Regions from separate parts of the Homo sapiens genome. Here region 1 is linked to region 2. The links are contacts of gene promoters, found by promoter capture Hi-C in blood cells and fetal thymus (Javierre and others, 2016). All regions are on one chromosome and are shown on one strand. The core of a region is centred on a gene start or on the middle of the fragment in contact, and the rest is flanking DNA. Distances in the headings are between cores, read along the strand shown.

What was found. The method cuts DNA at HindIII sites, captures the fragments that hold promoters and counts their contacts. A CHiCAGO score of 5 or more calls a contact.
Region 1: a contact is called between a fragment that was not itself captured here and the fragment with the promoter of H3-5 in region 2, in 1 of 17 cell types (non-activated CD4 T cells). The highest score is 6.9, in non-activated CD4 T cells.

The regions. Positions count from the first base shown.
Region 1 is chr12:32,071,244-32,074,282 of GRCh38, forward strand. No RefSeq gene overlaps it. Among named protein-coding and RNA genes, the nearest start is that of BICD1, 34 kb to the right of the region's middle. The HindIII fragment of the contact is 1,252 bases long and covers 860-2,111 here.
Region 2 is chr12:31,790,832-31,794,043 of GRCh38, forward strand. It overlaps H3-5 (H3.5 histone), which reads right to left and starts at 1,467. Exons shown (of 1, transcript NM_001013699.3): 1 at 354-1,467. The coding sequence starts at 1,335. The coding sequence ends at 928. The HindIII fragment of the contact is 13,966 bases long and covers 1-3,212 here.

The sequences.
Region 1 (3,039 bases), core at 236-2,735, 280 kb after region 2:
TGGGGCAACAAGCTGTTCCAAGCTTATTTTTCTTCCTTTTCTTTTTTTTTTTCCAATTTTATTTTGTACTTTTTCCGCCCTGGACCTGGTTTAGGTGTGGTGCTTTTAATGAAAAATGGTATGAATTTCAGCTATTCTAATTGTGGATAGTGATATTTCATTGTGGTTTTAATTTGCGTTTCTCTGATGACTAATGATTTTGAGCATCTTTCCATGTGCTGATTGATCATTCATATATCTTCTTTGGTAAAAGCATCTATTCACTGGGAGGCGGAGGTTGCCATGAGCCGAGATACACCACTGCACTCCAGCCTAGGGGACACAGCAAGACTCTGTCTCAAAAAAAAAATAAAAAGTGTCTGTTCAAATCTTTCACTCATTTTAAGAAAATGGGTTGTCATTTTTTTCCTATGGAACAGAATTTATTGGATAGTAGCATTTTAGGAAAAATATAAGCTCTACTATATATATATATAAATCTATATAGATAGATAGATAGATAGATACAATCAACTGTAAAGTCCATCTCAACTTCAGAAAATGTAAAGACATGTCCATCTTAGAAATGAAGAAATGGCTTCCTTGCAAGTTTGCAAGAACATTAGTGACATAATGTATAAAGTACTTAACATAAGTGTTCAAAGGGTAACTGTTGTTACTATTATCAACTGTATTAATTAAACTGTTTTGAGATTTAACACACATGTTACAGACTTTAAGAAAGCAGCTGAGTGCAGGTTTTTTGTTTTAGTTTTGCGTTTATGCCAATGTGAAAATATGAACAGCTCAGTTCTACATTCTGTTCCCTGAAAATACCACGAGAGCTATTAGACAGTCTTGAAAGGCAGTATCTAACATAAGCTTTGTGTGTTCATGGATATTTGTTCAATAATAACATTTAAATAATGAGGGAGGCCACTTCTAAAGACTTATCATTTACCTGATCTACACAATATCTAGCATAGGACCAGTTCTCAATTGACGGCAAACAGTCCCAGCAGGTCACTTCATTTTGAACAGACATTGCAATTGCACTTGAGAAATCATGCCAAGTTTTGCAGGGATTGTCCTTGGACTTGTCACCACGAAGACATAACTCATGCTATTTACATATTATAGCATTTTCTTTCTTTTTTTTTTTGAGACGGAGTCTCACTCTGTTGCCCAGGCTGGAGTGCAGTGGTGCGATCTCTGCTCACTGCATGTTCTGCCTCCCGGGTTCACGCCATTCTCCTACCTCAGCCTCCTGAGTAGCTAGGACTACAGGCGCCCGCCACCACACCCAGCTAATTTTTTGTATTTTTAGTAGAGACGGAGTTTCACCATGTTAGTCAGGATGGTCTCAATCTCCTGACCTCGTGATCTACCCGCCTCAGCCTCCCAAAGTGCTGGGATTACAGGCATGAGCCACCGTGCCGGGCTATTATAGCATTTTCTAGACTAGTTCAATCTGCAATGTCCTTGCACTGACCAGGGCTCCATTTCCTTTATCAGAGGGCTATGATGGAAATGATGTGGAGTTCACCTGGCTGAGACGGAATGACTCTGTGCATGGGCTGGAAACCCTGTGGCTTGCTTAGTACACCATACAATGGTATTTCACCTTGGACACCAGATTGCAGCAGGAGACAGGTAACTCATGTGACAATTTTTTTTTTTTAATTTTTACCATTGTTTTCGTAGATATTCCTAGGCCAGTTCTAAGAGTTTGTTTCTTGGGAGATTAGTGCTGGAGGCCAGAAGTCTGAGATCAAGGTTGGTTTTTTCTGAGGCCTCTCTCCTTGGCTTGGAAACAGCCGTTTTCTCGGTGTCTTCACATGGTCTTTTGCTCTGTACCTGTCCAAATTTCCTTTTCTTATAAGGACATCACTTGTATAAGATAAGGGTTTTCCCCTCATTTTAACTTAATTACCTCTTTAAAGGCCCTATCTCCAAACACAGTTACATTCCGAGGTACTGCAGGTCAGGGCTTCAGCACATGAATTTTGGGCAAGGATGGAGAGGGTTGGAAACAATACAATTCACCCCGTAACACCAGATCTGACTCCTCTCACTAGCCTCCTCAAAGAGTGAGGGGTTACTGTGTGTCCTTTTCAGATTCAAATTAAACAAGCTTTTGCTCTGTCAGCCAATTCTGGGAAACCAAGTTTGGTTTGGGCAGCCAGTCAGGTTGTCTTTTTATTACTAAGTTGTAAGAGTTTTTTTTTTTTTTTTTTTTTTTTTTTTTTTTTTTTTTTTTTTTGAGATGGAGTCTTGCTCTGTCACCCAGGCTGGAGTGCAGTGGTGCAATCTTGGCTCTCTGCATCCTTTGCCTCCTGGGCTCAAGCCATCCTCCCACCTCAGCCTCCAGAGTAGCTGGGACGACAGGCACGTGCCACCTTGGCTGGCTAATTTTTTTGTATTTTTGGTAGAGATGGGGTTTCATCATGTTGGCCAGGCTGGTCTTGAACTCCTGAACTCAAGTGATCCTCCTGCCTCAGCCTCCCAAAGTGCTGGGATTACAGGCGTAAGCCACTGTGCCCGGCCAGTTGTGAGAATTTTGTATGTATTCTGACTACCAGTCCTCTGTCAGATATATGTATTATGATGATTTCTCCCAGCCTGTGGCTTGCCTTTTAATTTTCTTAATTTTGTCTTTCAAAGAGCAGAAGTTTTGCATTTTGATAAAAATGCAACTTACCAATTATTTCTTTTATGGTTTCTGCTTTGGCAAGTTTGTAAATATTTTTTTCCCTGTGTTGCATGGTTTTAGCAATTATCTTTAGGTCTATGATCCACATGGAGTTAATTTTTGTGTGTGGTGTGAGGTAGGGATTGAGGTTTTTTTTTTTTCCAATATAGATATGCAGAATTTAGGCTGGGTGTGGTAGATGACATCTGTAATCCCAGCACTTTGGGAGGCCAAGATGGTTAATTGCTTGACGTCAGGAGTTCGAGACTAGCCTGGGCAATATGGTGAAACCCTGTCTCTACCAAAAATACAAAAAAATTATCTGGGTGTGGTAGCATGCATCTGTAGTCCCAGCTACTTGGGAGGCT
Region 2 (3,212 bases), core at 217-2,716:
AATGCCACAAGAAAAAGAACTTCAGTACTGTTTCCTCTTAGCAGAGGAGAAAACTCAACCTAGTTATGAGACCAACCACACAACACAATGAAAAGCTGCACTAGTTCAGAATATTAGTTAACAGATGATGCTGGTGTGAATAACTCATATTTTTTTCTAGAGCCCTTATAAATAAAATCCCCCAGTTAGTGTTTCCATTATCAGCTAGAGGGTTAGTTAACATGTGGTAGAATGAGGATTTATGCAAGGTATAAATGCACATAGCATTTTACTACTATGAGAACAAGTGCAGTCAGAAGAAAACCAACTGGACTCTAAATTACACACACCTTAATGACAAGACTCCCCACCACTTGTGAATGTAAAACATTTAATTTGAAAATGTTGACACTACAATATATAAAATAGCTATTATAAATGCACATATTGTATTCTATAGCTGCCAGGTTTAATTTTTTTTTTTTAAAGGAAACTATAAGTTACACTGTGGTTAAGGTTTGTATCTTCACCCTTGAAAAAGCCTACATTCTATCACAGTGATGTATGGTCAGACTTAACAGCCCCAATTGTTAAACACTTGGATCAAGTCATAACCAGTTTTATTGCAAAAGGACCCTGTTGTACACATTTATCAATTCTAGTACCTTAATAGCTACCCAACAAGTCATTAACATACAGAAACATGCATCATGAGAAGCAAGAAATATCACGCATCCGTTTTGCATATTAACAACTTGTCACTCCTGAGCAACAGTGCTGACATCACTGAGGTCTGTAAACAGTCACTTTTCGCATTCATCCTGAGTGAAAGATGGAATGACTTAAGTACAAATGCAACATATAAACAATTTCTTACAAAAAAAGTCACCAATTAAACCAAAGTATTTTACAGAATTTACTACAAAATGCCATAAAAACTGCCTTCACTTAAGCTCTCTCTCCCCGTATCCGGCGAGCCAACTGGATGTCTTTGGGCATGATGGTGACTCTCTTAGCGTGGATGGCACACAGGTTAGTATCTTCCAACAGACCCACCAGGTACGCTTCGCTAGCCTCCTGCAGCGCACCGACGGCTGCGCTCTGAAACCTCAGGTCAGTGTTGAAATCCTGCGCGATCTCCCTCACCAACCTCTGGAAGGGCAGCTTCCGGATGAGCAGCTCGGTCGACTTCTGATAACGACGAATCTCTCGAAGCGCCACGGTCCCAGGCCTGTAGCGATGAGGCTTCACCCCGCAGGTAGAGGGGGTGCTTTTCCTGGCAGCTTTCGTGGCCAGCTGTTTGCGGGGGGCTTTCCCACCGGTGGATTTACGAGCAGTCTGCTTGGTTCGGGCCATTTTCTTTCACCCAACGCCGAAGTTTTAGGCCACTTCTCCGACCTCCGCGCTGCTTCCGCTGCCCGAGGAAGAGCCGCAGTCGCGAGCGAAGAACCGACACTGGTCCAACGAACGACCAAACCGCTCTGCGCCCTCCTCTCTTTTATCTGCATCCCTTCCATTCTTCAAAGCCCATTTCGGTGTTTCGTTTTTTGTTGTTGTTTTGTTTTTTGAGACGGAGTCTCGCTTTGTTGCCCAGGCTGGAGTGCAGTGGCGTGATTTCGGTTCACTACAACCTCCACCTCCCAGGTTCGAGCGATTCTCCTGCCTCAGCCTCCAGAGTAGCTGGGATTACAGGCGCCTGCCACCACACCTGGTTAATTTTTGTATTTTTAGTAGAGACGGAGTTTCACCATGTTGGCCAGGCTGGTCTCAAACTCCTGACCTCAGGTGATCCGCCCGCCGCAGCCTCCCAAATTACTGGGATTACAGGTGTGAGCCACTGCACCCGGCCTTTCAAAGCTCATTTCAATCCCACCTCCGTCACAAAGCATTCTTCAGCCACCTTCGTTTTCATCCTTTTTTTCTCTGCACTCTTTCTACCCTTATCATTTACTTGACACTATGCAAATTCTACATGTATATGTATTTCTCATTTATTTTTAGTAATTATCTTTTTTCTTATTATAAAAGTAATACTTGTCCAATTTAAAATACAAAAAATATAGAGAAACAAACTGAAATGTGGAATCACATGTGATAAACACACACACAAGTTGGCTGAATATCTGTTACTCTTGGAATGGGGAAAGAATCATCTAGTCATCTGCCAAGAGGTATAAACCTAAAGTTTAGAAACAGAAATCTGACTTTTAAATGTTACAGTTCTATATGATATTTGTTCCATGGAGTAAATCATAAAGTTTCTCTCTCTCTCTCTCTTTTTTTTTTTTTTTTTTGTTTTTTGGGAGATGGAGTTTCACTGTCCTCACCCAGGCTGGAGTGCAATGGCACGATCTCGTCTCGCTGAAACCTCCACCTCCCAGGTTCAAGCAATTCTCCTGTCTCAGCCTCCCAAGTAGCTGGGATTACAGGTGCCTGCCACCACACCTGGCTAATTTTTGTATTTTTAGTAGAGACGGGGGTTTTACCATTTTCGCCAGGCTGGTCTCGAACTCCTGACGTGAAGTGATCCACCCACTTCAGCCTCCCAAAGTGCTGGGATTACAGGAGTGAGCCACCGTGCCTGGCCACAAAGTATCTCTTTTGTCAGGTGAGTTTTTTAACTTCTAGAAATATGCCACAAAGTGAGCCAGGTGTGGTGGCTCCGCCTGTAATGGTAGCACTGGGAGGCCGAGGCAGGTGGATCACGAGGTCAGGAGTTTGAGACGAGCCTGGCCAACATGGCAAAACCTGTCTCTACTAAAAATACAAAAATTAGCCAAGCGTGGTGGCATACGCCTGTAGTCCCAGCTACTCGGGAGGCTGAGGCAGGAGACTTGCTTGAACCTAGGAGGCAAATGTTGCAATGAGCCCAGATTGCACTACTGCACTCCAGCCAGGGTAACAGAGTGAGACTTTGCCTCCAAAAATAAAAAAATAAAATAACGAAAAGCTATTGGATTGACCATTGATACTTTCCACATCTGAAGAAATCTACCTTATTTTCAAAAGGGCAAAAAAAGGAAGGGTTCCCCGCCCCAGGTTAAAATATAGTAAAATCTCTGAGTAATTCATAACAAATAAAGCACCTTCACACTACCATAAATCTCTACACTGTGTTCCAATCTGTTGAGTGCCTGAATCCAATGACAGCTTTGGACGTCCCCTTCCCCCATAATCTCTGTGCAGACCCTCAACCTCACCCCAGATGCCTTTGGAGTTTTCATTCTTTATTA